3 separate regions of the Homo sapiens genome follow, and regions 1 and 2 are each linked to region 3. The links are contacts of gene promoters, found by promoter capture Hi-C in blood cells and fetal thymus (Javierre and others, 2016). All regions are on one chromosome and are shown on one strand. Each heading gives the region's core, a stretch centred on a gene start or on the middle of the fragment in contact. The rest is flanking DNA. Distances are from core to core; before and after follow the strand shown.

The links. The method cuts DNA at HindIII sites, captures the fragments that hold promoters and counts their contacts. A CHiCAGO score of 5 or more calls a contact.
Region 1: a fragment that was not itself captured here is called in contact with the fragment with the promoter of CCN1 in region 3 in 1 of 17 cell types (endothelial precursors); the score reaches 5.1 in endothelial precursors.
Region 2: a fragment that was not itself captured here is called in contact with the fragment with the promoter of CCN1 in region 3 in 1 of 17 cell types (endothelial precursors); the score reaches 7.6 in endothelial precursors.

What each region holds. Positions count from the first base shown.
Region 1 is chr1:85,700,168-85,702,937 of GRCh38, reverse strand. It overlaps ZNHIT6 (zinc finger HIT-type containing 6), which reads left to right. Exons shown (of 10, transcript NM_017953.4): 5 at 678-781. Among named protein-coding and RNA genes, the nearest start is that of ZNHIT6, 6.9 kb to the left of the region's middle. The HindIII fragment of the contact is 735 bases long and covers 1,018-1,752 here.
Region 2 is chr1:85,683,694-85,686,393 of GRCh38, reverse strand. All of the region lies in intron 5 of ZNHIT6 (zinc finger HIT-type containing 6), which reads left to right. Among named protein-coding and RNA genes, the nearest start is that of ZNHIT6, 23 kb to the left of the region's middle. The HindIII fragment of the contact is 2,868 bases long and covers 1-2,700 here.
Region 3 is chr1:85,579,313-85,582,012 of GRCh38, reverse strand. CCN1 (cellular communication network factor 1) reads right to left here and starts at 1,252. Exons shown (of 5, transcript NM_001554.5): 1 at 966-1,252; 2 at 435-648; 3 at 1-85. The coding sequence starts at 1,028. RefSeq lists enhancers at 1-115, 1,382-1,431, 1,162-1,684 and silencers at 532-581, 592-641, 652-711, 1,142-1,271. The HindIII fragment of the contact is 3,344 bases long and covers 1-1,931 here.

The DNA of each region.
Region 1 (2,770 bases), core at 136-2,635, 120 kb before region 3:
CCTCTTATTTGAGTGATCTTTCTTCTTCCTTGACTTAATAAAAATCTGGTATTACTTCCTTCATAACTCTGGAATTGCCCAGTTTAGCTTAATCAACCCAGGTGGTCAATGTAATAACACATGTCAGAGCCAGAATGTTCTCATATCCCATTTTGTGCTTCCCACAACAGTGGTTACTTTAAGCTAGGCCTTGTACTAGGCAATGCCTTGGCTCTTCCCTTGAGTGAGCTGTCTAGTAATAAAATCAGTGATATATATATACAGCTAACTGGTAAAACCATCGGTAAAAGAAATCAAGAATTGTGTAGGTAGCCCCCGTGATTGCCAAATGACCTGTGTTTTTGTTTGTTTAATCTCCATTAAATTCTTCTTTGGCTCACAGAACATATGGTTAGAAACACAAGCTCTGGAATTAGACAGACCAGGGTTTGAATACAGGTTCTATCTCTCTGGGATAGCTGTATGATGTTGGGATCTCACTAATTTTTATTGCTAAAATGGAGATGATAGTACCTATTCTCATAGTATCATGGTGAAGATTACATGAGATTACTGCTTAGAGCTGTTGTAACACTTAGGTTCTCAGTAAATCTTAACTATTATTGAACATTGTTTTACTCACTTTTTAAATTTAAGGAATTTAAAAATTAATTTGTCTGTTTGGTTTTTGTTGTTAGATGTACTTTATGAAAAATCGTGCCCGGAGGCAAGGTATTAACTTAAAACTTCTACCCAATGGATTCACCAAGAGGAAGGAGAATTCAACCTTTTTTGATAAGAAGTAAGTTTCTAACTTTTTAGTATATCAGGTATTCTGATTTGATCAGGATCATTCTTTAAGGTTTGGTTGCTATAGAGCATTGCTACCCCAAGTGTGGTTCTGTAAACTGTTTGTTATTGGTCCATGACAAGATAACTGTAGTAATTGTATGTCATGTAACTCTAATAAAAATTTGGGTTTGCAGTGTGTGCGTGTGTGTGTGTGTGTGTGTGTGTCTTCATATCATTTGAGAAGCTTCTCAAACATTAATGTGCATACCAGTCACCTAGGCATCTTGTTAAGTATGCTTGTTGTGATTTTTCAGTAGGCCTGGGTTGGAGTTTGATATTGGGCATTTCTAACAAGCTCCTCAATGATGCTCATTGTTTGAGAAACATATTTTGAGTAGCAGCGCCCTGGAACACTCTCATACATTAGAAATAAACTGTTTCTTTGAGAACTAAGATACCAAGAAAGTATTTCAGGGGCTTCCAGGACAAAACGAGTAAAAACAGGACGCCTGTACTGTTTTAATCAAGGCAGCTCTGCTTTTATTTTCTTTCTCCACTGGGTTTCCAAATAAGATTTCAATTAAAAGCTGTCAATGTAGAAGAAGGGGACTTTGAACTCTTGAGTACAGATAATATAACAGAGATTAGTTTGCTGCTGTCTGAAAATGTTGGGTTGAAAAGGCCCCAAGAGTACAGAAGAGAACAGGATCCCAAAGTTCTTTAAGTAGCCAACTAAATTATCAGATAATACCTTTCAGAAGTCAAGATTTTGGATTTAGAATTTTTAAAAACTTGAGGGAGTCCCTCCCTTTTCAGCCTCTTAGTAACTGTGGGGCCTTGAACAAATCAACTTCCTTTCTCTGGGCCCCAGTTGTATGATGTGGGGAGTTGACCCGGGTAAACTACGGAGCCTTTCCAGTTGTACTCTTCCAAAAATTGAAAAGACAAAGCCATCAGAATTATCATTATTCTAGTGAAGCTTCTATCTTTTCAAAGCTGTTATCATAATTAGAAGATGACGTTTTCCATTTATTTTATATAAGACATAAACATTTGTAAAAATGGTTTTTCGTTTTTCCTGGTTGTCTTCGAAAAGTAAAGTAATGCTGAAGCAGGTGGATCCCTTGAGGCCAGGAGTTTGAGACCAGCCTGGGCAACATGGTGAAACCTCGTCTCTACTAAAAATACAAAAATTAGCCAGGTGCAGTGGCACCCACCTGTGATCCCAGCTACTCAGGAGGCTGAAGTGGGAGCATCCCTTGAGCACAGGAGGCGGAGGTTGCAGTGAGCCAAGATTGCACCACTGCACTCCAGTCTGGGTGACAGAATGAGACCCTGTCTCAAAAAAAAAGTAAAGTAATGTCTTGCATTTATCAAATGTGAGATGATTCTTTTGTGCGTTTTGAAACTGGCATATTTAGAAATTGACATAATTTGAAGTTTATGGTAACTGGTTAGAAGTTTATGGTAACTGGTTAGTGCTTTCTCAAATACAAAATGTGTTCCTGTTTTATGAAAGAAACTATTCAGAATGATTGTAATCAGAGATTAGTTCTCAGTAATGAAAAGCAGATGGCCTCAAGTATAACATTTTTGTGTCTGTAGGTACATGAATGTATGCGGGAAGTTTTTACCGAGAATATTACACTCAGTATATTTTCCAGGTTTAATATATTTTTGGTTGTTTTGAAACTCCCCGGGTCTCTGAAATGGCAAATCAGATTCTTCTTGCATAAGTCTTTTGCTCATAAATTTATAGAGATTTGTGATCAGTTTTCTTACATTTTTAGTGTTTCCCAGGAGGAGATTAGCAACATAGTATGTACTAATAGGCTTTAGAATCCATTTCTTAGTCTTTTACCGTCTGCAAAATGGAGCTCATGATAGCTACCTTGTAGAGTTGTGGCCTTTTAGTGTATTAATTCACATAGGCAGTAACTGGCATGTGGGAAGGAATCAGTTTATAGTAGCTATTGTAAAAATAATACATCTGTATCAT
Region 2 (2,700 bases), core at 62-2,561, 100 kb before region 3:
TCGTTCTGGTTCAGTACTAGTTTCTAAGATAAAAAAGAGAAATATATATTTTTTTTCTCAAAGGGGGCAAAAGAGAATTCTTAAATGAATACTTCTAATAGTGAAATATGTTTAAGTTTAAAAAGAATGTTAAGGGTGGGTGCGGTGGCTCACACCTGTAATTCCAGCACTTTGGGAGGCCGAGGCGGGCGTATCATAAGGTCAGGAGATTGAGACCATCCTGGCTAACATAGTGAAACCCCGTCTCTACTAAAAATACAAAGAATTAATCAGGTGTGGTGGCGGGCACCTGTAGTCCCAACTACTAGAGAGGCTGAGACAGGAGAATGGTGTGAACCCAGGAGGTGGAGCTTGCAGTGAGCTGAGATCGCACCACTGCACTCCAGCCTGGGCGACAGAGCGAGACTCCATCTCAAGAAAAAAAAGAAAAAAAAAAAAAGAATGTTAAAATTATTCCTGTTCTTTCTATCACTGCCATCCTGTATGCGCCCATGAATGCATCTTTGACTTTACTGATTATGAAAAGTAACAAATCAGCCAGGTACGGTGGCTCACACCTGTAATCTCAGCACTTTGGGAGGCTAAGGTAGGAGGGTCACTTGAGCTCAGGAGTTGGAGACCAGCCTGGGCAACATAGCAAGAGCTTGTCTCTACTAAAATTCAAAAATACAGCCAGCTGTGGTAGCTACTTGCAGGGGCTGAGGCGAGAGGATCACTTGAGCCCAGAAAGTCAGGGCTGCAGCAAACCCTTTTTGGCCACTGCACTCCAGCCCAGGCGACAGAGTGAGACCTTGTCTCAAAAAAGGAAAAAAAAGCCCACAAATCATTATGTGGAAGATTTATTTAATAATACAGACATATTCGTAGGTAAAAATTAAGTCAAGTCCTTTTATAATGTCAAGAAATAATCATAGCTAAAAGTTTGGGGTATGGCCTTCATACTTGCCAATATATGTATAAACCTGTGTTTTAAATATAAAGGCTATCATTCAACATGCACATTTTTCTACATCAGTACATAAAGTTCTGCCTCATCTTTTATGACTACTTAAAATTCATTATGTAGATGTACCATGATTTATTTAATCAACTTTCTGATGATGTACATTTAGGTTGTTTCTAATTTTTTTCTATTATATAAAGTGGTGCAGTGGACATTTTATATATATATCATTACTTGACCAATTATTTCCTTGGGATACATTTCCAGGAATAAAACTATTGAGGCAAAAATATACAGTTTTTCAATTACAAATTTTTATTTATAGCTTTTATGAAATTGAACTACCAGTAGCTTGCACCAATTTATATTCCTGTCAGCAATGAAGTTGCCACACTTTTGCCACACTTCCTTAGTATTTCTAATTTAAAAAACATTTCTACAAACCTGAAAAGGAAAAATATTTTATTTATATATACATTTCTTTGGTTATTAATGAATTTGAACATCTTATTGTGACATTAGAGCAGTGCCATTTAAAAGGACCTAATGACTTTTGATTTGCATCTTTTTCCTTGGGATTGTGGTAGTATTCCCCATACGAAAATTTGCAATTTGAAGTTATGAAGTCAAAAGAATAATTTAGATTATGGTTATAGAACCTCTTTCCTTAAATGTGTGTGTTCATCCACATACTTTCTTGAAACTGTGGGAGAGAATGATCCCTTTTCTTTCTATTTTTGTAAACAAATGGGCCACGGAGAGACTGATCCTTAACAGTTTCTAGTAAGCAAGTGTTGGTAAATAAGTGCTCTGTATTAACTCACTGAAAATGAGTATAAAATATTTATTTTCCTCATTTAATACAAGTGCCATCTAAGTATTTTTCAACTTTTTTTTTATTATTGCCTCCCAAGGAGCTTTCTGCCGTGATATTTTGATACCATAGATACACTGTATATCTGTTGCATACAGTAGCCCTTTGTAGGGCCACAAGCATTAAAATAGCAAGATTTTGTTGGCCCTTCAGAGAACCAGTTTTTGCCCTCTTTGGGGCCATGCTGCCCTCATTGAGAATGCATGTGTGTATTGATATTTAGAGGAGGAGAGGGAAACAGCTTTGCTATGCATGAATAGTTACTTGGGTTTCATAGGACTCAGAAGAGGTTAGTGTTTCTGTTGCTTTGTCAGATTGTCCAGAAGGGAACATAAGGATTAAGTTGCCACAATTACTCCACCAGTCTTATCACCCAACTCTAAACATGGTATCTTGGAGTCCCTAAGTTACCTAGAATATACTAGGTATAGTAATACCATTTTTGAGAACGTTGATATGCCAAGGGTATAGTGACATTATTGTAGTTGAAGGCATTTTGTTGAATTTAGGGAACAGTAGCTCTAATGCATTAGGAGTAATTGTAAATGTTCAAACCTTTATCCTTGTGGTTCTCAAACAGTGATGATTCTGCTTCCAGGGGACATTTGCAATTTCTGGGAGCATTTTTGGTGGCCACAACTGGGTGTATGAGTGTTCCTAGTGGAACACTCATCTAGAGGGTGGAGTCCTAGGATGCTGCTAAACGTCCTGCAGTGCAAAGGACCAAGTCCTTTGCAAAGAATTATCTAGTCCAAAATATCAGCACTGCTGAGATTGAGAAACCCTGCTCTGTCTTAGTGATTGTACTTCTTGGAATCTAGCTTTAGAAAGTAATCCAAGTAATGTTGCTAGGATTTTGATGTATGTATATTTTTTTAAGTGG
Region 3 (2,700 bases), core at 3-2,502:
CACTGATGTTTACAGTTGGGCTGGAAACTTTCCCCGTTTTGGTAGATTCTGGAGTTATATTCACAGGGTCTGCCCTCTGACTGAGCTGCAAAGATCACCAAAAGAGAAAGGTAGAAGGGGATAAAGTTAAGATTCCAAACCACCGCCTGAAACTCATACATATTTTCTGCTGTTAAATTCAATTTATGGTAAAGTTCCCTACAATTCCCCGGAGACTCCAGACCAGAACAATAAGTTAGTCAGGAATCACTTTTCCGTATGCGCTTTCGTTGGGCCCAGACACACTGAATTGCATTCCAGACTGCTGAAATCATGTGCCTTTCTGCCAAGCTACCAACAACAAAGCATCACCATACATGGTCTCAGAATTACTAAACTTCTGGACTATGGGGACTAGTATTTTTTTTAAAGGGGCCAAACCACAAGCATCTTACCTCTGCAGATCCCCTTCAGAGCGGTGGAGCTGGCGCCGAAGTTGCATTCCAGCCCCTTGGTGTGGTCGCAGGGCTGCGTTTTGCTGCAGTCCTCGTTGAGCTGCTTGGCGCAGACCTTACAGCAGCCGCAGCCGTCCCGGACCAGCCCGACTCCCGGCGCGCACTTGGGCGCCTCCAGGGGGCAGTGGCAGGCAGCGGGGCAGGTGGAGAGCGCCTGGAAGGGGGAGAAGATACGCGTGAGACTCGGCGCGGTGCGCAGGAGGGGCGCCGCGGCTGCCGCAGTGAGGGACGGGGGTCTCCGACCCTATCGACGGGGAGCCTCTGATCTCGTCCAGCCCGGCCACCTCGGAAGGCTGCTCCCACCAAGAGGTCCCGACACGTCTTCGGGGGGAGGGGGAGAGTGCTTAAAGAAACGGCTACCCGCAAACGATCGCGAACTTTTTAACTTTTCCTGCCGTGGGCAATCTGGGACCAGGGGAAGGGGCTGGAGAGCGGACGGGGAATAGGTGGCAAAAGGAGAGTCCAACTCACCAGCCTGGTCAAGTGGAGAAGGGTGACGACTAAGGCGAGCGCCCTGGCGATGCGGGAGCTCATTGTGGCGCGCAGGAGTAGCCCGGGGCGAGCGCGGCGACGAAGACGCCAACAAGCTGGTGTGCAGCGGACAGGCCGTGCGCAGCGGGGTCGGGGTGGCGGCGCGGTGGGCCCGGTGGGCAGGGAGGCGAGGGCTGGGCGGCGGGCGGGCGTCTTTCGCTCGAGGTCCCGGCGGAGAAGGCGCGGAGGGCGCGGGCGCTGCTCGGGGGCGCTCTCGCTCGCGGTCTGCCCAGGCGCCCCGGAGCCCGCCTTTTATACGGGCCGGCGGAGGCGCCGCGTGTTGCAGTGACGTCGGCTCTGTCTGCGCGTTCCAGAATTCTCAAACATCTCAGGAATGCTGGTTGGCGCGGGCTGCTGCCAAGCGCCTCCCCTGGCTCCATTGCACCTTTGTGTGTGTGTGTGTGTGTGTGTGTGTGTGTGTGTGTGTGTGTGTGTGTGTGTGTCTGTGTGTGTGTCTGTCTCCCAGACCCGTCAAGAAAACAGTTCGGGGGGTGTGTGTGTGTGTGTGTGTGTGTGTGTGTGTGTCCCAGACCCGTCAAGAAAACAGTTCGTTTTTTCCACCTTAAATTACGACTTATGTTGGGAAGGGTTCTTTGGGGCGTGATGGTGGTGATGGTAGTTGGAGGGTCGTGAGGGGCGAGGGGGGCCAGTTCAGAACTTTGCCTGGACTGGGTGGGTGGGAGGACCTGAGAGGGAGGAACAAAAGTCGTTTTGTTTGGTGATGCGAGTTGACCGGGCAGCCACTGAAGCCCTCACCCGGGAAGGCAGTGAGCTGTTTGCTTTTTTACAGCGAAGGTGAGAGGCAAGTTATCTGTTGAAAGAGTAGAACGGGGAAGAGGAGTGTGTCTCTGAGTCAGGAATATTTGTGGACTTCAAAGAGGCGTGTTCGGAACAAGTCCCAAAGCTTTGGCATGATGTTTATTAGCAAAGTTCAGTGAATTGCAAATTAATACCCACAGTGGCATTTATGAATGAAAAGGCGGGGGGGGGGTGGGGCGGGGGGAAACTTGCCCATCGTCTGGCAAATTCCCAGGCAGAGGTCTCCCCCACTCCTCCAGCCCTTCCCTCTTTTGGGTATGTTGTACTTGTTTGTTTTTGGAGGTTCCCACTTTAGTTCCAGCCCACTGCCTGGGTTGGAAGTCCGAGAGGAAACGAACGCGGGGAGTTCTCCGGGAGGCTGACTTATACTTCCTCACGGATGCAGGAGACGGGGTAAGCCCTTCCCGCCTCCCTCCGCGGGCAGGAGGCTATGCTAACCAAGCAGCCAGCCAGAAGTGCAGGAGACCACCGTGGAGTGGCCTGAAATCATCACCTGCAAAGACCGCAAGGCCAAACCAGATTCCAGGACCATTGTGCCCTATGAATCTCTGGGAAAAGCAGACTCCTTCAAGCTGGACATTTTGTGGGGTTTTTAACTCCTTTCCTAGGGACCACTGGAAGCCTCCCATTTTAAATGAATTGCAATGCCCTTCTCTCCAAGTACAGAAAAGAGATTTAGGATGTAATATTTTGCAGTAAAAATGTCAGCAGATTTTAAGATCCCGTTCTACTTGCAACACACTCAGTAGAAGACCCCACCACAAGACAATTTACTTGAACATCACCAATACCATTAGTGTGATTGATAAACTTTCCCTGCAAGTTTCAAAAACTTTTTGCATAATTTTAATAAAAA